Linked DNA regions of Homo sapiens: all the other regions are linked to region 2. Evidence: promoter capture Hi-C in 16 types of primary human blood cells and fetal thymus (Javierre and others, 2016). All regions are on one chromosome and are shown on one strand. Each heading gives the region's core, a stretch centred on a gene start or on the middle of the fragment in contact. The rest is flanking DNA. Distances are from core to core; before and after follow the strand shown.

Region 1 (7,359 bases), core at 4,008-6,507, 290 kb before region 2:
GACACCGTGAAAGCCACATCAGCGGGGGTGAGGGAGCCAGTGCAGGGCTCCCGGGCTTCCAGTTTGTGGCCTCTGAATGAAGGTGTGGCCCCTGGTAAGATACAAGCACTGCTGGGAAGCCTAACACATCGAACAGTTATTAGCCATTGACACCTCTGCATGGCTTGTTTTCTGTGCTTCTCCCCAGTACTAGCTGCTCCCAAGAAGGTTTCAAACTAGGAACAAGGTGAAGTGGAGAGTATAAAGATGAGAGAAGTCCAGGAAGGGTATAGCACACCTGGTAGGGAAGACCCCCAAAATCGCTGCTGCAAAGTCAAGAGGAAGATTTTAGCAATCATACTGATTATCTAATGTGTGTAGCAACACCCCACTGGATGCCTGAAGTACAGAGATTAGTAGGATATGGTCGCTAATATTATACAGCGTGAAGTTTAATAGGAGGGAGAGAGATGCACAGAAATCATGAGTGTGCATTGCAGCATGAGAATGGATGATACAAATGTTGAAATCATTCATTTCAGCACTTAAATGTTTCCTAATGACATACAGTATGCCTGGAACCTTCAAGACATCAGGATAGACAAAACAGACAATCTCTGCCTGTAAAGATGTTACAGTCTAGCAGGAGAGCTGGCAGTTTTCAAATTGTAGAAATACAATCATGCATCACTTAACAGGGATACTGAGAAATGCGTGTCTGGACATCTTCAGCCACCCTAGAGTGTACCCACACAAGCCTAGATGGCATAGCCTACTACACGCCTAGGCAGCATGGTGTGGCCTATTGTTCCTAGGCTATAAACCTGTGCAGTGTGTTACTGTACTGAATACTGTAGGCAGTTGCAACACAGTAGTAAGTATCTATGTAGGTAAACATAGAAAAAGGTACAGTAATAATATGGTATTGTAATCTTATGGGACCACTGTCATATATGTTTGTTGTTGGCCAAATTGTCAGTATGTGGTACTTGACTAAGTATTTAATGGCAATGATAATAAATGCGACAAAGGAACTATGGAGACTATGGTAGCATAATAGGGACACCTCACTTACTCATGAGGAATAAGAAAAAGCTTCCCTGAAAAATTACGACTAAGCTGAGATTTGAAGAATAATGTGGAGGGTGGGTGGGAGGGGTATTAGTGACACCAAGGGGGTTGTAAGGGTGTTGCTGGAGGAGGGAGAGACTCTGAGAAGGCTCTGAGGCAGGGAAGCTCTTGGATGTTTGCGAAACTGGGAGGATTTGAAGGATGGGGTTGTCAGGGTGTATCTAGTGAGGGCAGAGCAAGCCAGAAGAGTAAGCAGAGAGCAGGTTGAGCAGGACTTGTAGACCTTCTTGGGATGTCTGACTTCATCCTCAGACCATGTCGCCAGTTGAGAGCTTTAAGCAGGGTGAGAGGGACAAGCCAGTTGCCGCATGGCATGTACAGTGAGAGGGGCTGTCGTGTAAGCAGTGGCTGGTTAGGGGCCTCTGCAATAACCCAGCAAAACTGAAGAGTGTTGGCTTATGAGCTATGCGAGGTGACAGTGGAACTAGAAGGAAGTGGTGGCTTTTGAGAAACGGGCTGGACTGGCCCTGATATTGAATTGCATTGGAAAGAGAGGGAAGTGTGGAAGACGATGCAGGGCTCTGCTATCAACTAGCCGATGGTCCACTTACCAAGGTAGGGAGCACCAGAGGGGTAACAGTCTCGAGGAATGGATGGAAGTTTTCATACTAGGTGAGTAGAGTTTCAGATGTGAAATGGGCAGGAAGATGGGTGGGCCTGATTCTCGGAAGAGGGGGCTGGGTTGGGAGTCATGGGCATCTGGCGAGTACAAAGGCCACGGAGTTCCCAGCATGAGTGTGAACAGTGAGAAGTGTCCGGGAGCAAGCCCTCGGGGGAGCCCTCGCTCACTCCCTTCTCCCAGCAGCAAGTGCAAAGGAACAGTGTCACTGACCAGGGCTCTCGCACTGTCTGGCACACAATCACCGAAGTTTCCAAGCCAGTACATTTTATTTTTATGAATACAACATAAAGCCAGAAACATTCCCAGCCTCATTGTTTTCCAGAAAAGCATCTACCAAACTCAAATGATATTCCTAACCCCTAAACTTATCACAATAGTTACGCTTTAATGCGCTACGTCTACTAACAAAGCCAGATACATTGCCCTCCTCCAATACAACAAAGTCCCCCTGATGGGCATGCCACAATGTACGCCCAACTTTACTGGGTGATCATTTTTGTCCAAGTGCATATATTTCATCATTAAAATGTTAAAAAACAAATATTTAAATTTCTCCCTTTTTTGCCTCCATATGGCTGGTTAATATATCTGAATAACAACTGAGTAGCTTTCTTTTATCCCTTTGAGTACAAGGAGCTTGGAAGATACTCCTTTCTGACTCCCACGTCAGGGTAGGGTCTGGATCACCACAGGGCTTAGAATTGGGTGGAAAAACAGGAGGGAAGAGCTGGGGAGACCAGTCGTGACCCTGGGTGACAGAAAAACATGGACTCTGAACTCTGGCAATCCAGGGTTGGAATATCCTAGATTCTACAACTTCCATAACTATTCATTCTCCTCCCCTTCTCTCCTGGCAGCAACGTAATAATTGAGACACTGCTGGTCTCAGATTCAGCAGGAATGAAGATCAGCGAATACATATTGTTGGGTAACTTCTTAAATCTGATGGTACATTAGCCAGAAATGCTTACAGTGTATTTTATAATAAACTTATGTTAATGGACTAACATGAAGACTCTAAATCTCTCTTACTGTTAGTCCTTATCTACAGTGCCAAATGCATCAGGTAGGTTCAACAAAATCGAGAAACACCACGAAACTCTGCATAATTAGATGAGCGCAAACTACACTTAATAGCACAAAATATCAAACACCTGCTGCTGTTCTTTAACGATGACTTGATATTCTATAGAATTGGAGATGTGATGGCTTGAAGCCTCCTGCTTCCAAAGAAAACACTAACTGGAATCCTTCACAAATGCCCACAACTAGGTTGAGCTCTCAGTTGGGTCCACTTCTATGACTAGAGTCAAGGTGAACTGAATCACTGCCTGCCTGCTCCAGTCCTTTTAAAGGTGGTACAGCACGTTTTTAAACTGACACTGACATCTCAAGAACCAACAGAGTGATGGAAAAAAGTTGAACGCAAATGTGTTCTGCTTTTTTTTTTTTTTTTTTTTTTTTTGGAGACGGAGTCTCACTCTGTCGCCCAGGCTGGAGTGCAGTGGCATGATCCCAGTTCACTGCAACTTCCGCCTCCTGGGTTCAAGCGATTCTCCTGCCTCAGCCTCCCGAGTAGCTGGGACTACAGGCATGCACCACCATGCCCAGTTAATTTTGTATATTCAGTAGAGACAGGGTTTCACCATGTTAGCCAGGCTGATCTCGAACTCCCGACCTCAGGTGATCCGCCCACCTCGGCCTCCGAAAGTGCTGGGATTATGGGCATGAGCCACCGCGCCTGGCCCTCTGCTTTGTTTTTATTTGGAGTCATAATAGAAAAAAATTTTAATAAGCCCCTAAATGATTCTCCATTAATGTGATTTAAATAATAAATTCATAAAGATTGATTTTGTTTATATACACTCAACTGTAGAAAAATGACTGTCTTTTTTTGTTGTTTACACCGTCAAATCCAATCAAGCCAAACATGATGGTTAACTAAAATGATTAATGAATGCAGCATTAGCTGATGGCTTTAAATTTAGCGTGTGTTACTGATGTCAGGGTTGATTAGTTCTCTATCTAAAACTGATGCTATTAAAAGCTTTGAGCAATTTAGATGTTGTCATTGAGTAAAACTTCAATGGGGTGAGAGAAATTCTATCAGGATAAATTCTGCTCTGGTGCAACCTGTGCACAGATGTTGGATAGAGAGAGAGTGGGCCTTTTCTGATGGGACAGGAAGAAGGAACGGGAGGCAGAGAAGCTGACAAGGTGGCATCGATCTCAGGAAAGGTAAAGAAGCTTGGAATAAAAAAAAAAATACTCATCTTTGCACAAGGACTCCCAAATGGCATATGGGTATGAATATTGATCATTTCAGCTTCGGAACTTTTCAAGAAGTGGGAAAAAATAAATGAAGGGGAGGCAAGAGGTTAATATAGTACCATGCCTTAGTAACTCCTCTGAAAATGAATCCATGGGGAAATCATTGTAGTCAGTGGTGGAGACCAACATTTTTATTAATAAGATAAAAGGAAAGAGTGGTAAAGCAAAGGCGATCATTGGATGGAATGATTATGTGTCACGAGCACTTGAGGACCTAGAAAGCAAACTGGAGTGATTATGCCAATCAAATTGCAAGGTTGGAGATATGCTAAAAGGTTTGAAGGAATCCAATCCTGGGGCTATTGCACAGGACTTGGGGAAATCAAGTTGCTGCAAGCAGCTATGACTTGAGGAAGGTGTGCAGTGGGGGACCTTAAACCATTTCCAACATCTGTGCCTTTGAAATATTTTATTACTGATCCAGATATCCCAAGACATTTTAAATGGAAGGGAAAATGTACTATACTAGACCCAAATTCTCTGGATATTTACATTCCATCCCTGTCTAGGGATGTGGGGGAGGTGAATCTGTCAGTGGATCAGATCAGACTAGAAGGTTCTTGTGATTAATGGAGCTGGGCCATCTCTAAGAAAAAGGCAGCAAATAATTTGGTTCCCTCTATGTAGTTCCACCTAAGAAGAGGAAAAACAAAGAGAAATTTTGTTACAATTTCCATTCAAATGAAGGAGGAAAAATATTCTGTCATTTAGACAGGAAGATTTGATGTTATAAATTCCATTTAAATTATTTAACATACTTCTGAGATCCCAGTATGAAAAGCACTTAGTAAGTTCCATGTGAAAATTGCATTATTATTATTAAGAAGATGAGAATCAGTCCTAGACTCAAATCCAAAAGTGAATTTTCCTTGATTTCTTATCACTGATATGGATATCAGGGTCAAACAATTTCTTGTTTCTCAGTAGTCTGGGATGCTTAGGAGATCTTGTAGTATCTGCCAGTAGCGCATAAAGCAAACATTCCTAATAGCCTTTTTTGTTATGCACTAAATATTTGTGTTTCCTCAAAGTCCTGTGTTGAACCCCTAACCCCCCAGTGTGTCTGTATTTGGAGACAGGGCCTGGAGGAGATAATAAAGGTTAAATGAGGTTAAAATGGGGGTCCTAATCCAATGGGTCTGGTGCTCTTATAAAAAGAGAGACACCAGAACCACCTAACCCCACCATCGCAGGGACGGCCAGGAAGACAGCCCATACCCACCAGGAACCAAATGGCCTGGCACCTGATCTAGGGCATCCAGGCTCCAGAACTGTGAGGAATGAATGTCTGTTCTTTAAGCTCCCAGTCTGGACGATTTTCCATTCTCACATAAATTGAACAGGAGCTCACCCACGTGTAGACCCGGGTGTGTGCAGTAAAGGAAGAAGAGAGAGGCACATTGCACAGGCATCAGCTGACCTGTTGATTTTCTCATTCTGCGAATGTTCTCCATCATCAACAGCTCCCAGCGGAATTAGCACCACGCTCTTGTGGACGATCTCCTGGAACATTTTGGCAATTGGAATGGTGGATCCATCCCGGATCATATCTGGTTCTGTTCCAAACACTGAGACAGGAAAAGAAGGCATTTGAATAGGGTAAGGACAAGAACACCCCCAGGAAGCTCCTCAAGGTCAGTGCCTCCTTTACCTTCCTCTCTCTTTTTCCTTGTTAATCTTTCTTTTTTTACCATTAGATTTGGTGCTTTGGGGTAAGGAAGCCCCTTGATATCATGCAATTATATTCTAAGATAGACACTAGAGTCAAGAAGAAAACTATGGATGTCTTCTTCACAATTACCTACTTTAAAAAAGATTTTAGAGCCAGGTGCAGTGGCTCATGCCTGTAATCCCAGCACTTTGGGAGGCTGAGGTGTGCGGATCACTTGAGGTCAGGAGTTTGAGACCAGCCTGGCCAACATGGTGAAACCCCGTCTCTACTAAAAATACAAAAATTAGCTGGGCATGGTGGTATATGCCTGTAATCCCAGCTACTCAGGAGGCTGAGGCAGGAGAATCGCTTGAACGTGGGTGATGGAGGTTGCGGTGAGCCGAGATCTTGCAACTGCACTCAGGCCCGGGTGACAGAGCGAGACTCTGTCTCTAAATAAATAAATAAATACAATTGTAAATAAAAATTTTATTTTGAACTAATTTTAGAAAAGTGTAGAATTTAGAAAAGTTGCAAAAATAGTAGAGAGAGAGCTCCCATCTATCTCTTACTCTGCTTTCCCTGATATGAACGTCTTATGTAACTATTGCAAAATGATCAAAACAAGGAAACTGACAACGGTGCAATGTTGTTAACTACACTCCAGACTTTCAATTTCACCGGTCTTTCCCTTTTTCCCTTCCAGGATCTGATCCAGAATCCACACTGCATTTTTATTATTGCTTCTTAGTTTCTTGTATGCTGCAGACGTTTCTCAGTATTTCCTTGTCTTTCATGACCTTGACCATCTTGAAGCTTATCAGTCGGTAGTTTTGTAAAATATCCCTCACTCTGGGTTTGTCTGATGTTATCTTGTGATTGCAAGAGGTCATGCATTTTTGGCACGACACAAGACAATGTCCCTATATTGTTTCTTCATGAATTAAATATTATGGAAGTGGGACTTCTTTGGGTTTTTTGGTGACAGATATGCCAATAGCTGTACTATCGCTCAAATGTCACAGTGTTTCTAGCAATTTTCAAAGTATTGCACAAAATAGTTTTAACTGCTATCGTAGGTTTTAGAAAGAGATGAGTTCAAACCTTCTAGCTTACCGGACATGCTGCCAGTGATGGAGTGGGATGAAAAATGAAACAAAGAAACCAGAGAGAACATGCCACCTCTTCTTTATTCACAAAGAAAGATGTGGACGTGAATCGAAGTGATGTGCCTCGTTCGCAGAACCAGTTTAGCACACAAATAGACCGAAAGGTGTCTTATGCATTCCTGAAAGGCTATTTCAGACCTATTTATTGTTGTCAACCTGGGTATTTCAAACACACACCTCTCTTCAGCTGCCATTACATTTCTTCAATCCTAAAGTTTACTGGCGAAATACCTGCTAAGGTTGGGGGCAGCAGGAATGGTGATGGAAAGAAGCATGGCTCCCTGTCTTGGACTTGATCTGTAGTTTTCCGTGTCTGTGTCCCTTGTACTGATAACCCTGAGAGAGAGTTAGTGCTTCAAAGAGATCTGGGCTTCCCTTTCTGGCTTTGCCACCATTAGCCAATGTGGCCTCAGGCCTCATCTGTAATAGGATGCCATAGGTCTACCTAAATGCATGCCACTGCTTTTCCACCTAGC
Region 2 (6,871 bases), core at 220-2,719:
GGATAGATTGAAGGGTGGTGCCAAAATTGAAAGGAGAAAGAGGTTGAGAGATAGTGAGAGAGGTTGGAGAAGAGAGTAAAAAGAAGCTGCTTACCCAATTTAAAATTGGTGAGATGTTCCTGGAGCTGGTTGGTCTGAGGACCCGAGGTTGTAGGTGGATCTTTCTCACAGAGCAAAGAGCAGGAGGACAGGTGACTGTCTTATCAGTTAAGGCAGGAACCGGCCATTTTCACTTCTTTTGTGATTCTTCAGTTGCTTCAGCATTTTCACTTCTTTTGTGATTCTTCAGTTGCTTCAGGCCATCTGGATGTATATGTGCAGGCTTGGGCTCAGAGGCCTGACATGCGTGTGTTTTGTGTTTTTCTGGATAGGCATGCATTCCTATGGAGGAGGTAAGCAGGGGGAAGGGAGCTCACATTCATCAGACACCTAGTATGTGTAGGAACCTTCTGCATCCCTGGAAGGATGGATGACCCCACATGTGAAACCTCTCGTGTGGTTCTTTTTGGAATTAACTACCATTGCTGAAAAGGGCCTACATAAAATATCAAATTTTAACATGCTGGAATTTTTCTTTATTTTTTTTCTCCTTCAAACATTTGTAGCTCTTTATATGTGGTATTTCCTCTGTGTCAGAAGGGAAAGAGGGTGCCCTTTGGGGAAGTTCTCTTCCAGACTCCTAGAAGAGAATCTGATTTACCTTAAATGCACAAACAAGGCCTTGCCATGTCACTGGCCAACCGCAGACAAACTACTTCAGTCACAGAAATAATTTGGACACTTTTGCTTTTTAAGGAAAAGATGATTTCCCTGGATTTTTTTCCTGTGAGGACGAGGCATTCCAAAACCCCAGCGGGGTCAGGCACAGTTCGCCAACTTTATGTTTTGGGGGGCAGCGCATTTGCTTCCCGAAGTGAGTTGCGAAACCGTTTTCTAGCGCGCACGGGGCTTTCATCTCTTCCGTGCATGCGAACGGCTTTCCGAGATGCCCCCTTTATGGGCTTGGCCATCGCTACTTTTGTTACAAATTAACGTCTGGGACTCGGACTGCTGCCAATAGGAAACTCCCGCGATTCGCTGCCTAGTTCGCCGCCCTCACAAGACTGGACTCTGCACAGGCCATCCATGCCCGCTGGTGCACCTCGCTCTCTCGCACGCTTAACCCGCGGGGACGCCCCCGACCTCCCACCTCAGCCCTCGCCACAGTTAGTCCCGCCCTTCCGCGCAGACTCCGTGGAGTCCTGTCACGCTCTCCGCGCGCTGCGGCAGCCGGGAGATTGTGAAGGGCACCTCCGGCAGCCAATTAACACCCGCATACTGGGCGGGACCACGCTTGGGCAGGCGGAGGGGGTCGACCGAAGGCGGGGACTTTTGAGTGACAAGGATGATGGCCAACCGTCGGAGGCCCTTCTACTGCGCCCCGCCCCTGAGCCGGCCGCCCAGCCCCCAGTGGGGTTCCCGGCGCGGGGAATGTCCCGGGTGGAGCTGGCTGAGTCGCGCGCTCTGCTCCACCCGACGGGGCTGTGTGTGCTGGGCCTGGCTCGCGGCGAACCGAGATGGCAGAGCAGTCGGACGAGGCCGTGAAGTACTACACCCTAGAGGAGATTCAGAAGCACAACCACAGCAAGAGCACCTGGCTGATCCTGCACCACAAGGTGTACGATTTGACCAAATTTCTGGAAGAGGTGAGTTGGGGATGAGCGGCTTGGGGCGCAGGGAGCGTGGGCCGGGTTTGGGGGTTCACTGGCATGACCTGTCTTTCGCGGCCCGGAGTCCGCATACCTACGCCTAGGCGCGCCCCCCGAGTTCGCTCACCTGCGCGTGTACGCCTGGGCGCGCTTCCGAGTCCGCACACCTGCGCGTGCAAGCCTGGGCGCCCCCCACCGCCCCAAGTCCGCACACCTGCGCGCTCACACCTGGGAGCGCTCCCCGAGTCCGCACACCTGCTAGTGTACACCTGGGCGCTCTCCTCGAGTCCGCACACCTGCGCGTGCACACCTGGGGAGCGCTCCCTGAGTCCGCACACCTGCGCGTGTACACCTGGGAGCGCTCCCCGAATCCGTACACCTGCGCGTGCACACCTGGGAGCGCCCTGCGCGGCGGCATCCTCGCTAGGTGGTGCTGGAGCAGCCTTCCGGGGATAGCGCGCAGCCATGCGGGGGATTTAAATGATCCCTTTCTCCCTTGAGTTTGAATAGAAGGGTGTCCTTCCAGGACCGGCGGCATTCCCGCAGTGGCCGGCTGGAGACCACCCACCCCGAGAGCTGCGGATCCCGCCGGAGGGGACCCCAAGTGCGGAGGTCGGGTGTGGTCCGGGCCTGCGCTTCCCGCGGCAGCCACTGGCCGACCTTGCGGTCCACACCCACTCGCGTTCGCGTTCACCTGGAAGAGGCTCGGTGTTAATTAACCTTTTCCAGTCACGCCTTGGCAGCCAGGTGCCGTGCTTGACTCCTGAGACCGCGGTGTGTGGCTGGAGCAAGAACACAGAGGCCAGGCAGAGCAGCGGACGTTCTGCGTGGGACTCGCCCCTAACAGCTTTGGAAGGTGTAATAGGAAACGTTGGTTAACTTGAAGACATTCCTTTGATAAGATTCTTTGCATTCGGTTATAATTTTTGCCGCACACGCTAAGGGGCGCTTTTGGTGATTGTCTTAGATCCTCTGGAAGTGTTTTACTACTTTTGGGGGAGTCTCAATCATAAATCTTAACGCATGCTCACGCCCCCTCCCAATAATGAGAAGGTTTAGTGATGGGAATTTTTTACATAGTCGGGGAGCAGGGGACAAAAATAGATGCCTGGTCTGAGCTGGATCACAGTTTATATCAGAGGACTTTGTTTTTGCAGAAAATGTTAAAATCAAAAGGCCTGTTTTAAAAAATGAGGCTGGGCCAAGCACGGTGGCTCACACATGTAATCCCAGCACTTTGGGAGGCTGAGGCGGGTGGATCACTTGAGTCTAGGAGTTCGAGACCAGCTTGACCAACATGGCGAAACCCCATCTCTAACCAAAATACCAAAATTAGCCAGGCCTGGCGGGGCACGCCTGTAGTCCCAGCTACTCGGGAGGCTGAGACAGGAGAATCCCTTAAACCTGGGAGGCAGAGGTTGCAGTGAGCCGAAATCGCACCACTTTGCTCCAGCCTGGGGGACAGAGTGAGACTCTGTCTCTAAATAAATAAATAAAATTAAATAATAAGGCTGGAGTTGATGTTTATTGGTAAGGTATTTCACTCTGGAGCAGTGCCCGAAGATAAAGTCATGTTACCATTTAGTAAGGAGGGGTTTATGTTGGGAAATCAGAGCTGACCTGTCCTCTCCCTCCTGCCCGGCTGCAGATCTTGTCATATAACATCAATTCTCATTAACTCTAAATGTGGAATTTTAAGATACAGTGTGTGCTTTGTCTATTTGTGCTTATAGAAGAAGTAGCATAAGAGAATATTAGGATATTTTATATTATGAAGCATTTTCTTCTTTTCTTGTCTTCTCCTAAAGCGAGTTTTTTCAACCCTGGCACTGTTGACATTTTGGGCCAGCCGATCTTTGTTGTGGCGTCTGTCCTGGGCATTGTAGGATATTGAGCCACCTCCCTGAGTTCTACCCACTAGATGACCGGTACCACCACCTCCCCTATTTTTTTTTTTTTTTTTTTTTGAGACAGAGTTTTGCTCTTGTGGCCCAGGCTGGAGTGCAATGGTGTGATCTCGACTCACTGCAACCTCTGCCTCCTGGGTTCAACCAATTCTCCTGCCTCAGCCTCCCAAGTAGCTGGGATTACAGGCGCACACCATCACGCCCAGCTAATTTTTGTATTTTTAATAGAGACAGGGTTTCAACATGTTGGCCAAGTTGGTCTCGAACTGCTGATCTCAGGTGATCCACCCACCTTAGCCTCCCAAAGTGCTGGGATTACAGGCGTGAGCCACTGCTCCCAGCCCTACCTCCCCTATTTATAGCAACCCAAAATGTCTCCAGATATTGCCAGAGGTCCCCTAGGGCACATAATCTCTCCAACTTGAGAATTACTAAGGTTACTGTGCATGACTTTAGGGGTAGATTTTCAGAGACGATAATAGGGAAGTGAAGATTATTGTTAAAATGTACTCAAAACTATTTACTTTCACATTTCATTCCTGTGAGTCAGGAAAGGAGGGATTGTGCAAAAAATTTTCCGAGAAAAACTGAGAGATGAGAGCAAGCTCTTGAGTGGGTAAATTAGCTGAAAACAAATTTCTTTATTTTTTCTTACTCAAAGTTTTTGTGGAGAATGCATCTCAAATAAAATGAACAAGAGGGTGGCTGACCCCTGGAACGGCTAGGAGGATGGCGTGAGTGAGGAGGCTGGGGTCTGGGAGAAACACAAGGAGTTAGTTTGGTTTTGGTCCTGTTGACTTTAAGAGGTTGGAGGGATCTTCAGGCATTGCGAGAACTGCATGCGTTTCTGCCTCCACTGTCTGCCAACATGTGGTTCTGGGAACAAGCAAGGCCACTTAGCCTTTCACTGGATTGTGTCTGACCTCTGGGCACCTCCCGATTCGACCTCTTATGGACGTGTTTTTCCATTTGCCGTCTTTATTATTTGCTTTGACTTTCTGTGACCATCTCTTGCTTATTGCATGTCCTGGTCATTGGCTTCCCAGCCCCCGGCAAAGCCTCTGGGAGCCTCTCTCTGGGTTCTATCTGAGACTCTAGCCAGGATTCCTTGCAGGTGACTTCCTGTGCTCCTGGGGTTATATCTCCAATAAGCTCACTCGCTCAGAGCTCTTCAGCACACTGCCCTGCCAGGTAGTTTGTTATGAGGCTAGTCTGTTTGTCTGAAACGTACTTTTAAAACAGAAATGAGTGCAGAATGTCTCTGTCTCTCTTCCCCGCTTGCCCGATCCTCTTTCCTGTCTTCTATTGTTGAAAGGCTCCAGAATTTCATGAAGCCTTTGTGTGTTAACTAACAAATATTTTATCTCACCTAATTTACCTAAATAGGAAAGATTTATCTTCTCCTTCTAACTCTCAAATGAACTTTCAGTCATTATGGGCTAGACCTTTGTTTACTGTGAGATCCCCCATCCGTATGGACAGGATTTCTCATGGCTGAGTATTTCCCCTTCTTTCAGAATGTCCTAGATTTATGTGCATGTCCGTGTTCATGTTGAGAAGGTGTGTGGTGAGATGGTGGAGGGATCCTGCTCTGCTGGCAGGTACAAGCCAAGAACACAGGTTGAAGCTCACAGGTGCAGCATGTGCTCCGACCTCCTGAAATAATGGCCACTAAAGCTGTTTTTGTTGTTTAGGCGGAGGGGTAGAAACCTAAGAGGGAAGACTGGCTTATTATTAATGGCAGTCGACATAGCAGCAGGTGCTTAGTTACTGTCTGATACTTAAAAGATTTTGAGCTTTATTGCCTACATATTTTGAACTAGATTTTTTTTTCAATCCTGAGTTCTAGTTTTTGAGTTTATATTTGTGAAATTGAGTCTTTGCTTGATCATAGAACTTTAAGGGACAGTTATTTGAAATGAAAACTTAGGCATTTAGGACCAGGGGGAGAAATGTTTGCATTTCCCTTTCTGTGATTTGGGCAGCAGCATCTATTCAGTTTTTAAAAGAGCTGTGGAGGGGAGAGAGAAAGGTATCCTGTAATTAACAACACTTCCATTAGCTGTTGCTTTTGGTTCAAGTCAGTGGGTGTTTGATTCGTGAAATAGATACTGTCCTGGAAAATTTTATAAAGCAGAATGTCTTTTTGTGAAGTTGTCTCCTCTCCCTTTACATCATAAAAATGGAAACTTGCTTCTGTAGAACATTTTCTAGTGTTCCTGGGATTCTGATAGTCTTGGACCTGAGCCTTAAATGTTCTTTACAGCATTCTGCCTCATAGAAGCTATTGGCTCCTGACTCACTTTGATTTTTGGAGTCTTAAAAGTGTCCTTTCTAGCAGGTTTTATTGTAGGGACTTGCTCTTTGTTATTTTCCATTGAACATGGCTGCCTATGTTGCGTAGACCAGTGGTTCTAAGGCTTGGGAATCGAGGAAGAGAGTATGGGTGCTGAAATTCATTGCCCTTAATTTTGAAAAACATAGAACACGTATCTTTACCCTTGTTAAAGCTACCATATTTAGGGCTAAAATACTAAATGCCTTTGCTTTTTGCAAGAAAATTTGATAGTATTCTGAATCTCATGCTACTAAAGGCTGCAGTTGGCAAATATGCCTTTGATGCATGTAAAATGGGAACATTATTATTATTTAATATATACCGTTAGGTAAATAAAACTTAGAAATTACAGAGTCTGTAGAAGGGAAATATAAAGTTATTGTTGGTAGTGTTGGTGGCTTAGGCATCTTGGGTAAAGTGGTAGTAAAACCACATCTTAGAAGGCCACCTGGGGAATGTGAACCCGTGAGGCTTTTGTATATTTCTATATATATCTCTATATTTTTTGGTAACCTGTTGCTACTTTTGAAAAGAGGTTCCAAGAGGCAACTTTGTTTTGAAACAGTAAAGAAAACAGTAAAGAAACAGCAAATTAACTTTTGCTTTTTGATTATCTTAAAGGTTGATGAAAATTGTAAATAAGGAAGGGAAAACACATGCAAGCCGGCTTTGGTCAATCAAGGAATAAATAACATGCACAATTTTACTGAATGTGAATGTCTGGTATTCTGAAAAGTCCTCCTGGTGAAGATGGCTGATAAGTGCCTTTGTAGTTGAGTGGAGTCTGAACAACCCTGTCCCGCTGGGCATTCATGGGAAAGCACTGGGCTGGGGTTAGGAAAACTAGACCTGGTCTTAGACATATCATGGAGGTGACCTTGGGCAAGTCAGGTATTTCTTTCAGTCACTTTCCTTGTTCTGAAGTGGGAACTATTCTG
Region 3 (6,946 bases), core at 4,211-6,710, 280 kb before region 2:
TAGATAGATGGTAGAAATATAGGTAAATTTCATTATTCAGTTTGGGAGAATGAAGGAGAAAGCTGTGCAACTAAAAATGATGCTGAAGACCTTGAGAAGATCCTCCCAACACCTGGGCCATCTGGGCTGATTGTACCATGGCCTGGACTACTGAGGCCAAGGGAGTAAATGCTTTCTGGCAATTTGTCTGCCCAAAAGGGGCACATTATTAAACATTTTTTTTTTGCTTTTTCTATTATTTTTCTTTCTTTCTTTCTTTCTTTTTTTTTTTTTTTTTTTTTGATACAGGGTCTTGTTCTTTTGCCCAGGCTGCAGTACAGTGGCACGATTATCTCAGCTCACTGCAACCTCTGCCTTCCGGGCTCAAGCGACCCTCCTGCCTCAGCCCCTTAAATAGCTGGGACTACAGGCCTACACCATCATGCCTGGCTAACTTTTGTATTTTTTGTACAGACAGGGTTTCACCATGTTGCCCAGGCTGGTCTCAAAGTCCTGAGCTCAACTGATCCACCCACCTTGGCCTCCCAAAGTGCTGGGATTGCAGGCGTGAGTGACCATGCCTGGCCATGTTGTGAAATTTGCATAAAGGAGCTATACATGCCAAGTGGAGCACAGCGAGGTGTTGCAGGGTCTAAAGCATAGGTAATGTGTGAACCTCTTTTTTAAAAGAACACCAAATTATGAATATAAAATGATGAGTGTCCCTTCCAGGACTGTGGAAGGAGCTCCTGTAAGTGAGGCCCCTGGAGTTTAAACTTCCTTAGCTTCCCAGGGAACCCACTATGGGCAGCTCTGATGCCTAGAAGAGCTGTAGGTGAATTGAGCCTGAGCAAACAGGCTCCCCGAGAAAAACATACAACTTCCTCTTGCACACACCAGCAATCCATGGGAAATCAAGGACAGCACCAGGACAATCGGGGAACTCGTCGGCGTCGCTGTGCCACTCGGGGCCACAGCAACCTTGAAAAATGAAGCCAAGTGGTGCTGACATATTTGACACCATTTCTGGAGTCAGGCCAGGGCAGGCCATTACTCACTGATGGACATGCTGCATTCCAGCCACCGTGACAAGCGTTCTGCACACATCACCTTTTTGCATCCTAAAAGCAATACTAGGTGAACAGACGATTGTGCCCCTTTACAAATGAGAAACCAAAGACTAGAGAACTCAAGTAACTTACCAAGGTCGTACAGGTGGTCTGTGGCAGAGCAAGGACATACCTGGTCACCCACACCCAGAACCCACATGCTACAAGGTGCAGGCTGGTCTGCGGAAGGGCCAGTCTGTCGTGAAAAACAAGATGCTCTTGAGAAAGTGGGTGAAGGGCCTCACCTGGTGTGTCGCTTAGTTCCTTTCCCTTTTGATCATCCCTTTGTTGATTTATCTTCAGTCAAAAAGTCATGCCAGGTCTACTGAAGTTGAACTTGTGGTTCAGCTGCTTGGGAATACCACACCTCCACCCGGCCCGGCATTCTAGGAGCACCAGTAAGGGAGTCAGGGTGGCCTGTCAGTCTTTTGTATCCTTTGAGTCTCTGCCCTCTTGTCCTTAAGTATGGCTATGTGTCACAATGTCCAATAAAACAAAATGGATGAACTGAAGAAGAGTTTCAGTCCATGAAAAGAAATAATGCAGACTTACTTATAAGTGGAGGGAACAGTTTGCCAAGGGGAGGAAAATCTAAGCATCTACACCCTTGTTCAGAGCTGGTTCAGAAAGCAAGGAGAGGCACATAAAATCAAGTAGAGCTGTCTTTTAGTTGATCCCTGATGCTTAAAAAGTGAAACAAAATAAGGCATTACCGAGAAGAGCAACCAGATCAGCCATTGGTTCATGAAGGATGCCACCAAAGGTTCCTGAGTGAAAATCCTGGTCTCTGCATTTCACCTGCAGAGTAGATAAAAGGTAAGAGATATACTTCCTGCCTTGGTTCCTTTAGTGTAAGCATTTCACATGGTGAAATACATATCTGCGTGTGTCCCTCAGAACTCAGGTAGGCAACATCCAGACCTGACTTCACTTTCTGTGTTTCTCAGTCATGGGGACTGGATTTCCTACCTGCTGTCGATTGCTTCATTCCCACCATCTCTTGAATCCCCTGAAACTGACTCATTCCTCAGCTCTTCCACCAACTCTATTCTAGCCAAGATCACCAGGCTCTCCTTGGCCAAATGATTGATGTTTACACAGCTGTCTTCCTTTTGGTTTCATCCCATATTGTTGATCACTCCTCTTTCTGGAAAAATTCTCTTCCCTTGATTTCTGAGAAGCTTTCTTCTCTTTCTTCTTTTCTTACCTGCAGGACAATTCTATTGATACCTCCTGTAATAACATCTCTTCTTCCTCCACCTCTAAAGCTTAATACTTGGCTCATCCTTCCTCTACCTGAGCTTCAAGAGCTCACAGGATAGTGTCTATGTATATGGCACCCTTGACATAAGTGACTCCATCTTAGAAAAAGACTCCATCTTACTTTTCCTAAGGGACTTTGCCAACAGGGACTAGATGTTCTGCCTGATCAATAAAGACTGCTTCCAGCTGGATAAGGACATAGCCAAACACATTCTTCCACTATCAGTTCTTATCAGAGGACTTGGCAGTCATAAAACGACCAGGATGTCAGCAGCTCAAAACTTAACAGACACTGTCCTGCTGTCACTTGTGCTAAGCGCCCAGCATCTGCCACCAAAGGCTCTGCCCAGATCAAAGTCTCTTCCTTACAAGACCACTGGACCACCCGGGCCAAGCCAGGATTTCTTTTTGTCTACGTCACTCTCCCTGGACTGGTTCATTAACCTGTTTTCCTATCACTTTTCTTTTCTTTTTTTTTAATTATTTATTATTATTATTATTAATTATTATTATTATTATTTTGAGACAGAGTCTTGCTCTGTCACCCAGGCAGGAGTGCAGTGACATGATCTCAGCTCACTGCAATCTCCGCCTCCCAGCTTCAAGCAATTCTTCTGCCTCAGCCTCCCAAGTAGCTGGGACTACAGGTGCACGCCACCATGCCCAGCTTTTTTTTTTTTTTTTTTTGTATTTTCTTCATAAAGACAGGGTTTCACCATGTTGGGCAGGCTGGTCTTGAACTCCTGACTTCAGGTGATCCACCCGCCTCAGCCTCGCAAAGTGCTAGGATTACAGGCATGAGCCACTGTGCCCAGCTCCTTCTCTCTTGATGGTAAATGTTACTTTGTTTGTTGTGGAATGTTCAGTCTATAACATTCACATATTGGCTAGGTATACCACAATGTATGCTTTACAATACTGACTGCCTTGTGGAGTAGCTTGAGCCTGTGTGCCTGCGCTCTGACTTCTGAATGAATGGGAGGCACTAAGGAGAATTGCCTCCTTGGGAACTCCATGGAGCCCATGGCTTTTATTATTGAGATAGCATCAGTAAAAGCCTGACATTGTGGAATGACACAAACATGTGTGGACCTGGTTATCTCTGACCATGCGGTGCTCACGCTAATTTAAGGGCAGAGATGCTATTAATACAACCATGCCCTTCAATGTTCATCCCTGGAGGTCTGACCTTCTACTTAAACACCAGACCTAAAACTCTGGAATGCTTACGGTGCCTTCCACTTGAGCATGCTTCCAGTTTCCAAAACTCAGGAGATCTAGACCCAAACTCAATCTCTTCTGCAATTACTTCCTACCAGCATGATTTCTCCTATATACGCCATATCCAATCAATTACCAATTTCTACAGGTTGGGCTTTTTTGAAGTTGATTCTTCAGTTCATTCCCTCCCATCCTTCCTGCCCAGCTGGTCTTTCTCTGTTCCTCTTCATCTTCAATGTGGCACCAGAGCAATCTTCGGTATGGTCACTTTAGCATTAAGACTTTCCGTTCACTAGGCAATAATGCTAGCTAAATTACTCTGGAGTGTGGACGGTCTCACTTCGAAAGCTTGAGCTGGCTGTCTCACATTCTGATGACAGCTCCCCTTGTCCTCTCTTGTAACGTTGCTGTACCACCTGTTCTCGGTCTTCATTAAGACGTCAGTCCCTTGACCCTTCCAAGATGTCCCACATTGCCCTCCTGCCTTTGTTTTTTCCCCTGTTCAACCTGAATACCACCGTTGATCACCTCAGCCCCTCTGTGCTCAACACCTTGATGAGCTCTTCCCTACTTTCTCCACCACAACCCTCTGGGGTAACCTCAACCCCTGGGCCAGCCTTCTCTGTCCCTGGCCACTGAGCATGCTGCAGAAAGCCAGCAATTTGCATGGACAGATGACTCCAGACCTTACCACTGCCTGGCCCTTCTTCATCCTCCCATCCCTTCTCTTCCCCCTGTCCCAAAGTGACCACTTCAAGCCATCACTTCTCTGCAGATACACTCACTTCCTACTAAACAGAAAAAAATGGACGCTAAGAGGGAAAAAGCTCTAGGACTTGGAGCTCTCTACCTACCCAAAGCCCTCACAGAAGAGGTTATTTTCTTCCCCTGGGTCTGGAGCTCGCCCCCTCCCACCTCCTCAGTGCCTTCGTTCTCAAAAATTCTCCCCCTCCCTCCCAGGTCTCCAACTGCTCCCTCTGTCTATTGCCTCCCAAGGGCTTCCTCTAGCCATCATCCCAGCTGTCTCCCACTTTTCACAGCCATGTTTCTTGAAAGCGGGTTCTAGAGGACAGTCCCTGCTTCCTATTTTCTCTGTCACTCCCACATCTCTTTAGTATCTGTGTCTCACTAGAAGTAAACTTCCTGAGGGCAGAGACTATTTTATTCAGTCCTATACCCCTGGGACTTAGCATCCTCCTATCTGACAAATAGAAGGCACTCACTGTTTTTCACACGCATAGCCATGTGTGTTTCCGTGTATGTGCTGACATCTGAATCTCAAAACTGCCTAGGGATTGGATACAGCATGGATTATCAGCCTACACGTTGTTATATGAGAAAACAGATTGAAATGATGAAATAATTAGCTATTTACCCGGGAGGGACTTTCTATGTCTTATGCACTATCACAGATTGCCTGTATTACTAGAAAAAGAGAAAAGGGGAAGGAAACTGATTATGCGTCAAACCTCAACTAAAGGCTGCATGTAATGACACAGTCATCCTGGGAGGGGGCGTTATTGTACCATCTTTCAAGGTGGGAAACCAAGGCTCAAGGTGAAACCACCTGCACAAGGCTGGGCATGGTAGAAGCTAGGATTCAGATGCTGGCCTCGGGCGACACCAATGTTCCTTCTCTTTCCCTGTGACCACGGCACTGGGGTCTCCTGCCACTGTGGCCAGCAGGCCCACGCTGGGAGCAGGACACAGCACAGTTGCCCCTGCATTGATCGCGCAGTCTGCTTACCTCCCTGTGGCTGCCATACCTGCCTGCAAATCCCATGGCCAGAGTTTCCAAGCTTTGCTTTGTAAGTCACAAACCCCTGTGAATCCCCTCTCCAGAACAAGGTACATAGCCACATCCACTCCAAGTGTTGGGGGTTCATGACCTCCCCAAACCCCAAGACCTCTGCACCCACCCCACCTCCCCTGAGGCCGTGTGTCCCAGGTAAGGCCTCTGCCCTCAGGAAAGCTTTCTTTCTTCCTCTCCAAGATCCCAGAATGGATTGGTGCTCCCATTCACAACCCCCACAGGCCTCCATCCATGCACTGCTCTCTGTGGATACCTCCACCATGAAGTAGCTGTTCCCCCGGGTTCCGTAAGTGATTGCTGGCTTCCTTTGGCTGATCCACAGGTTATCTGAAATTACAATGTAGTCCACACCAGAGAAGAATCGGTCCTTTTCTTTTTCCACAAGTTCCTCCAGGGCAACAGAGCCAGCCTCTTCCATCCCCTCAATGATGAATTTGATATTCACAGGAAGATCCTAAGTAACAACAGAAGAAAAAAATTGCACAAGTTGCCTGATGTGGTTTGGCTGTGTCCCCACCAAATCTCAACTTGAATTGTATCTCCCAGAATTCCCACGTGTTGTGGAGGGACCCAGGGGGAGGTAATTGAATCATGGGGGCCAGTCTTTCCTGTGCTATTCTCGTGATAGTGAGTAAGTCTCATGAGATCTGATGGGTTTATCAGGGGTTTGCTTCTTCCGCATTTTCTCTTGCTGCCACCACCTAAGAAGTGCCTTTTGCCTCCTGTCGTGATTCTGAGGCCTCCCCAGCCATGTGGAACTGTAAGTCCTATTAAACCTCTTTTTCTTCCCAGTCTTGGGTATGTCTTTATCAACAGCATGAAAATGGACTAATACAGTAAATTGGTACCAGTAGAGTGGGTTGTTGCTGAAAAGATACCCAAAAATTTGGAAGCAACTTTGGAACTGGGTAACAGGCAGAGACTGGAACAGTCTGAAGGGCTCAGAAGAAGACACAAAAATGTGGAAAGTTTGGAACTTCCTAGAGACTTATTGAATGGCTTTGCCCAAAATGCTGATAGCAATATGGACAATAAAATCCAGGCTGAGGTGGCCTCAGGTAGAGATGTGGAACTTTTTTGGAACTGGAGAAAAGGTGACTCTTGTTTTGTTTTAGCAAAGAGACTCATGGCATTTTGCCCCTGCCCCAGAGATTTGTGGAACTTTGAACTTGAGAGAGATGATTTAGGGTATCTGGTAAAAGAAATGTCAAAGCAACAAAGCATTCAAGAGGTGACTTGGGTACTGTTAAAGGGATTCAGTTTTTAAAGGGAAACAGACCTTAAGAGTTCAGAAAATTTGCAGCCTGACTATGTGATAGAAAAGAAAAACCCATTTTCTGGGGAGAAATTCAAGCCAGCTGCAGAAATTTGCATAAGTAGTAAGGAGCCTAATGTTAATCCCCAAGACCACTGGGAAAATGTCTCCAGGTCATGTCAGAGACCTTCACGGCAGCCCCACCCATCACAGGCCTGGAGGCCCAGGAGGAGAAAATGGTTTCATGGGCCAGGCCCAGGGTCCCTGTATTGTGTACAGCCTAGAGACTTGGTGCCCTGTGTGCCA
Region 4 (6,999 bases), core at 2,104-4,603, 310 kb before region 2:
TTAATGACGTACCTTTCTAGTATACCAATGTGTGTCCCACAATTATATCTTACTGGGTTCATAATAAAGTTAATTTTTTAAGTTTAAAAAAATGTGGTTTTCATAGAAATCCTATAAAAAGTTATATAATTCCCTACTTTCTTAACATGTATATAGAATATAATTTCATATTTTCTTGACGATTCAGGGTAACAACTGCTGTGCTGGACAGAAAACCTTAACTGCTATGTATGAGGAAACAAACTTCCTATGATTTTTTGATTTTTTAATTTTTTATTTTTTTCAAACTCCGTATTATGCTATGTGCTTAATTCATGGCATGGGCAGTACTGTTCTGACCACTGCTGGATAACAGCTATAACAGAGTGAGGGCTGGCTTTGTCAGCTCCTGGATGAAGACTTATCCACATTCCACCAATTAGCACTCACACAAAAGCTACAAGATAATACGCATTTCATAGTGAAGTTACTGAGGCTCAGAGAGATGAAGAGACTTACCTGAAGTCACACAGCTAGGAGCTGCAGACAGCAGATGCAAGGCCCATGCTTCCCAGTCCTTATAAGATTAGGAAATGGACTGGAGACCTCACTAAGTAGCTGGGGGTGAAGGAGGTGCTCTTCAAGACTGAAGTCACCGCCGGAATGTCTCTTACCCTAGAAATGGCCCCGGGAAGGCAGACCCCAAATATCAAGAGAATGCACTCCATTTCTTTCTTGGTGTGGCAAACGGTGAGTGAAAAGGTTAACAAAACCCTTTCCCTGATACATGAAAATTAGACTGTTAGTTAAACCATCTGGCTCTGTTCCCTCTGGTAACCTAATAAGGGTAAGAATGTCAACTATGCCACTAAGCGAAACTGCTTACTGTAAGAATGGCCCAACTGGTAAACTGCATCCAGACTTTGATGAACTATGCATGAACTATAAATATCTGATGGGGACACCATGCTTCGGGTGCCCTTGGGATGCAAGGACTCTTACACATGGTGAGTGTCCCATAAATGAATAAAATGTAGTATATACCTCAAAAGATTTGGGGGGATTACATGATGTATGTACAGAGGCATCTGGCACAGTGTTTATATAAAGAACTCAAAAACATTATTATTGTTACTTCCATTGAATTCTGTGTTTATTTATTATCCTCTGCCAAGGATCCTAGAAGCTAAGCCTATGGAATGTTCAAAAACACTTGCTCCCTATGGGGCATGAGATTTCAAAGATAAGGCTGTGTCTACATCCATGATGTGGCTCTCATGTCCCTGCACTGAAGCAGCCACCTGGAAAGACAGTGTCTGCACAGCTGTGTAGACAATTGCAAGGACCACCCCTGAGAGAAGATCTGACACTTTGGGCTGGCAAGCTGTGGCTCTTGTTCTTCCCCTTCTTCACAGACTGTTCAAGTGTGGCCTATGGAGGTCTGGGAAGTGTGAGTTAAACCTAAGACCCCTGGTGGACATAGCAGACAAGCAAAGGATCAAAATGCACATGAGGAAGCTTCTGGGATAGGGAGAAGGGAACTTGCCACACGGATGCAAACCAAAAGCTAACAAGGAGAAAAACTAGGCAAGGACCCATCTAAAGAACTTCATGGAATTCCCTGAATCCCAAGAAGCAAAGGAGCTACAATGGAATCAAACCTTGTACTTTGTGAGGAGGTGACCTCTCTTATCTCTTCATCCACCTCTTCCTTAGTGACCAAGTGAACTTCCATGGTTTTCATTCCCATCCACTAATGATGATGCCTAAATTTTTATCTCTAGCCAACAGCTCTGTAGGTACCAGACCCCTAAGTCCATTTGGATGTTACATGCACTCATCAACTTCCCCCACAAACTTACTCCTTTTTCCTTTGTTCTTTATGGCAGTAAATAGCTTTACAACCCATCAAATCACCCAAGCCAGAAATCCTTAATGTCCACTAATAAGATAATGTTTAAATAAGCTAATATATCCATAATAGAAAATATTACATAGTTGAGGTAACACTGGAAGCTCATCAAGACATCCTGTTCAGTCTGAAATTACTTAACAGTGGTTACCTATGGAAAAGTGCCTGAAATCAGGGAGAACTTATTCTCTCCAGTGCTTGAATGTTAAAACAAAAACCAACAACTACCAAAAAAACAAAAATGCTTAAGAATAAAGAAAGATGTGGAATGAATCTATTGTTTCACAGGCGTCAATGGTGTCTCACCAACAGACTGAGCTTCTAGGAGACCTAAGCCTAAGCTACTTCCTCGGTACAGAATTTATGAAAGGTGCCTTTCAGGTACTGATTACGTGGCCTGCCTTACATGGTTGGGCTTTACTGTCAGAACTGCTTCATAGAGAGAAGATACTGTTGTCATTTGCTTTGCTCACATTAAAAGAATGGGCACTTTCAAACTCAAGAAACTGTTAATAGTGATTGTCTCTGGAGAGCAGCCCTAGAGTCTGAGGCATCACTGTACTATTTGCAATTTTTCGTTGTGTGCATGCATTGGTTTTTCAATTGTAAACAACTAAATAAATAACTGAAGGGCAGGGGGGACTTCCTTTCCTCTGAGAAGTCTCCCTAAACCTTCTTCCAAATTAAAGCAAGATTCCTTATCATCAACTCTCATAGCATCTGTGCAGCACAGTGAGTGCTACAGGACTCAAAACTTTCTTTAAATAAATGCTAAGACATGACCAAATGCATGAACCTATTACTGGCTCCCCAATGCCCTTACAATAAACTCTTCAAGTATTACCTCAGCCTTCAAGACCCTTCGCAGTTTGGCCCCTGCTTCCAAATGCTACACTGCCCCATGATCTGCCGGGCTGCCTGGGAGCCTCAGCTCTCTCCTGAATGCCCTGTCCCCACACACCTGGGCATGCTCAGGGGTCAGTGTAGGAGTCCCCCTGAGGCATTTTCCCTGCCCCCAACTCCCCTCACACACACACAGTGCAGGATGTGTTTCCCAGCAGGACCAGGGCAATGTGTTTATCCTACCCTTCTGGATCTCTACTAACTCACAGACTACACTGGACATAAGAGGAGCTAAAAAAAATGTTGAATGAATCAATGCTAAAATACTGTAGAAGGTAATGTAACTTAGTGACTAAAAATAGGGGTTCGGAAGTCAGACCATCTTGGTTCAAATCCTGGCTCTACCATTTAATAGCTGTGTCGCCTTGCACAAGCTATTTATCCTAAATTTGAGTGTCCCATAAATCAATAAAATGTAGTATATACCTCAAAAGATTTGGGGGAATTAAATGAGATTATGTACAGAGGCACCTGGCACAGTGTTTATATAAAGAGCTCAAAAACATTATTATTGTTACCACCACTGAATTCTATGTTTATTTGCCTTTTACTGTCCCTAAGTACTTAATACTTTGAAAACGTCCAGTTTTCTCAGCTATACTCGAGAAGCAAACTGTTAAACCAGGATTATTATATCTGGAAACTACTGTATGAATAAAAGCAATAATCCTCTAAAGGAAAAATGACACTTAAAGAAGACAATGTTGGAGACCATCATCTCTCTCTACCTTCTCCCGCAAAAGGTTCTCCCTTCAGTGCTCAATTCTAGAAGTTCTAGATTTTACTTTATTTAGGGAGGCTGTAATTCCTTTACACTCCTACACCGCCATCAACTTCTTGCAAGGCTATTTCTGGGTTTTATTCCAGGTAGTTGGAATTGCAAGATAATCAAGTAAGCAGGGAGTTAGTACAATTATGATCTACCCATATAATTACCATAAGGAGATGTTCTAGTCACAAGACAACACTGATAAGAACAAAAAGCCTTTCCACTACAAAAAATATATACAGATGTGGATCCCTCACTAGTGATGCAAGCAAGATACATATGTAGGTGTAGCTATGTATACAGATATGTATGCATATATTGTATAGGGACATGTTTTGTACTTCCTTTCTGCTCCAAATGACTCATACTCCATTAAATTCCACAATATTTACTGATTCCCCTCGAAACAGTTTGGATGTGCATCCCCTCCAAATCTCAGGCTGAAATGTAGTCCCCAATGTTGGAGGTAGGGCCTGGTGGGCAGTGATTGAATTATGGCGGGGGTGTCCCTCCTGAATGGCTTGGTGCTGTCCTGAGATGGTGAGTGAGTTCCCATGTGACCTGGCTATTTAAAAGTGCATAGCACCTCCCCACTCTCTCGCTCCTGCTCTTGCCATGGGATATGCAAGCTCCCCGTTTGCCTTCTGCCATGATGGAGAGCTTCCTGAGGCTTCACCAGAAGCCCAGCAGATGCCAGTGCCACACTTCCTGTAGAGCCTGCAGAACCGCGAGCCAGTGAAACCTCTTTTCTTTGTATATTACCCAGCCTTGGCTATCTCTCCATTTTAGGCAATGCAAGAATGGCCTAACACCCCCTTCTATGAGTAAGACATCATGCCAAGAGACTTGGGATGCATACACATGAAGGCCGGTCTTGCCATAATCTTGTGAAGGACACACACACACACACACACACACACACACACACAGACATACACACACACACACACACAACTAACTGAAGGAACCAAGGCTGCAGTGAGATGCTGGTGGTCCTCTGGGATTGCAGACTCATCCATACAACTGCCCACTCAACGTGTTCACAGAAATGAGCCCACACTGAAGTATCTTACTGGGGCAACTGCTCACCTTCCATCACCACACAGGGAACACCAGGCTCCACCCAGTCACCCGAAGCAGACACATCAGTGTCCACCTTGACTTGTCCATCTCACCTACTCCATCCCCGAATCCACTCCACTAACTGAGCATGTACAATCCACTCACTTCCCCTACCTCTGGGCCACTATCCTAGTTCAGACTTCTGTGATGTCTAACCTACTATAAATGCAACAGCCTCTAAAAGATCCCTGTCCCCTAGCCTTACACCATGCCAACTGGTCTCCGTAGTTGCAATCAAAGTGCTTAAAACAAGCAAAAGGGTGTACATGTCACTATGCTGCCTACATTTCTTCAAGAGGGCCTCTCCAGCCTTATTTTCCACACCTCCTCTTATACTCCGTGATCCAGCCATCCTAAACACCTTTTAATTCTTGAAATGTTCCACATTACCTTTTGACGCTTGGAAGTCTTCTATCCAAAACTGGATTCCCTAACCGCTCTTTATCTCTTTGCCCAGTGAGTTCCTGTTCATTCTCTGGTCGCCATTCCCTCTTGGTATTCCTCCCTAACCTCTTTAAGCTTGCCAGGTTCAGTGGTTATGCTGGACATTTTTGCTTTTAGGGCTACCCACAGCCCAAGCTTCCTTCTATTTAGTAGGACTCCTTTGAGGTGTGGGTCTTTGCGAGGGATAAAGACCATCTCTCTCCATCTCTCTGCTCCCTGACAACTACAGTGGCTTGGCAAAAAAGGTCACAAAGATGCAGGAGCAATAAGAGATTTTTCAGTGGTAGAAGAGAGTCAACAGTCCAGCAACAGAGGTGGCAGTTTCTCCAGTGGCAATGTCACCAGCAACAAAATTCTAGGCAGGCTATTTACGTGATATTGCCTTGGATGTGGCCCCAGCCAGCCAGCCTCTTTTGGTTGCTGCCTATTTTCTGAATCCAGTTCCCCAGCCTTCCCATCAATTCTGAAAGCCATCTATAGCCTTCCAATAAATTCCTTTTCTGCTTAAGTCAGCCAAGTCCATTGCCATGGTTGACAACCAAGAATCATGAATGGCACTGTGACACTCTGTGGGCAGGCCATCAGACTGCACTGCCAATGCGCATTTGCTTGTCTATATTCCCCACTATCTTGTTCATCATTTTACTCTAGTGCAATGGCTGGCACAAAGCAAGCATGCGGTAAATGTTTCCTGAATGCATTACTTAATTCCACTAGTCATCAGAGTTGGAAAGCAAGGAAAACGCTCAGTGGAGGACCACAGTGCATTCCTAAAAAACCAATCTCAACTACAGTCGAAAGAGTCACAACTATCAATTAGAAACATACAGCTTAATTTATTCGCCTATTCATAGATTTAGAAACTAGGCTTCTTCTCACTATCTGGGATACAAACCACCTTCTTAAAGGAGATGAGAAAGAGAAGAATCAAACTAGGAGAGTATATTTTATTAAGATTAGCGAGTTCTACTCTAATAAAACAAACCTAATCGGAATGAATGTTGGGGAAAATGTCCCTTCAACCAGGTGAATACCCACTAGTCCTTGAGACCTATCTCAAATCACATATCCTGCAAGAAGCTTTCACCACTCCCCACCATCAATCAGCCGTAACTTCCACTGTGCTCCCACATCTCTATTTTAGTAAGCAGAAAAAGGTATTATATATATTTATTTATGTGTCTATTCAACCAGATCTCAAAATCCTCTAGGGAAGTATATTACTATTTCCAACACCTAGAAGGGTGTTTGGCATAAAGCAAGAACCAGTGTTTTTGAAGTGGAGCCACTTTGCTCTGCTTAAAAGGTACCAATGGAACTGTCCTATTGTTTGCAACTTTTCTGTAAATCTTAATTTATTCCGAAATAAAGTTTAAAAAAAAATGCACCAGTAGCAACTGTGTTGTGAGCAATTATCACACCTGCCTTACATGTCACGCAAGAAGAAAGCTTTACCTTGTACCAGTAGCAGTAATTTTGTATATAGCAAAGTGAGTCTCAGTTTGTAAAAAGGGAATAATTCCTACTACACAAGATTGCTGTACTAAATGAAGCACAGTGAGTATGCCAAATGACATATAAGCTCTTCTTAATAAGGTTCTGATGAGTATATGTTAGGGCCCCTGTCTACAGTGTTCTAAATGGACCAGCACTTCACCACAAAACAGATACATACTACGACTAGGATGTCACCAGGCATAGACTGCAAAGCTGTAACTCAAATCACTATTAAGACTGTAATTACTTATAAAAGTATTCTACATGTGTGTCCACGGATGTGGGATGTCCTATTCCAAAACTCCCCAATGAAATAAATGGCTACTCAAAACCCAGCGCAACCGACAGAGGTCAGCGGCCACTGCACCCCGCC

Evidence for each region. Contacts are between HindIII fragments. The CHiCAGO score rates a contact against its expected background, and 5 or more counts as called.
Region 1: a contact is called between a fragment that was not itself captured here and the fragment with the promoter of CYB5A in region 2, in 2 of 17 cell types (monocytes and activated CD4 T cells). The highest score is 6.3, in monocytes.
Region 3: a contact is called between a fragment that was not itself captured here and the fragment with the promoter of CYB5A in region 2, in 1 of 17 cell types (naive CD8 T cells). The highest score is 7.9, in naive CD8 T cells.
Region 4: a contact is called between a fragment that was not itself captured here and the fragment with the promoter of CYB5A in region 2, in 1 of 17 cell types (naive CD8 T cells). The highest score is 5.0, in naive CD8 T cells.

What each region holds. Positions count from the first base shown.
Region 1 is chr18:74,581,833-74,589,191 of GRCh38, reverse strand. It overlaps CNDP1 (carnosine dipeptidase 1), which reads right to left. Exons shown (of 12, transcript NM_032649.6): 11 at 5,484-5,631; 12 at 1,980-4,696. The coding sequence ends at 4,630. It overlaps LOC124904324 (a long non-coding RNA gene), which reads left to right and starts at 5,515. Exons shown (of 2, transcript XR_007066415.1): 1 at 5,515-5,697; 2 at 6,421-7,359. The HindIII fragment of the contact is 2,551 bases long and covers 3,982-6,532 here.
Region 2 is chr18:74,286,561-74,293,431 of GRCh38, reverse strand. CYB5A (cytochrome b5 type A) reads left to right here and starts at 1,469. Exons shown (of 5, transcript NM_148923.4): 1 at 1,469-1,685. The coding sequence starts at 1,557. RefSeq lists enhancers at 381-550, 910-969, 1,259-1,428, 1,508-1,677, 2,283-2,890. The HindIII fragment of the contact is 14,442 bases long and covers 1-6,871 here.
Region 3 is chr18:74,566,126-74,573,071 of GRCh38, reverse strand. It overlaps CNDP1 (carnosine dipeptidase 1), which reads right to left. Exons shown (of 12, transcript NM_032649.6): 6 at 5,639-5,839; 7 at 1,802-1,886. Among named protein-coding and RNA genes, the nearest start is that of ZNF407-AS1, 28 kb to the left of the region's middle. The HindIII fragment of the contact is 173 bases long and covers 5,374-5,546 here.
Region 4 is chr18:74,598,823-74,605,821 of GRCh38, reverse strand. All of the region lies in intron 1 of ZNF407 (zinc finger protein 407), which reads right to left. Among named protein-coding and RNA genes, the nearest start is that of ZNF407, 4.5 kb to the right of the region's middle. RefSeq lists an enhancer at 6,957-6,999. The HindIII fragment of the contact is 3,707 bases long and covers 1,500-5,206 here.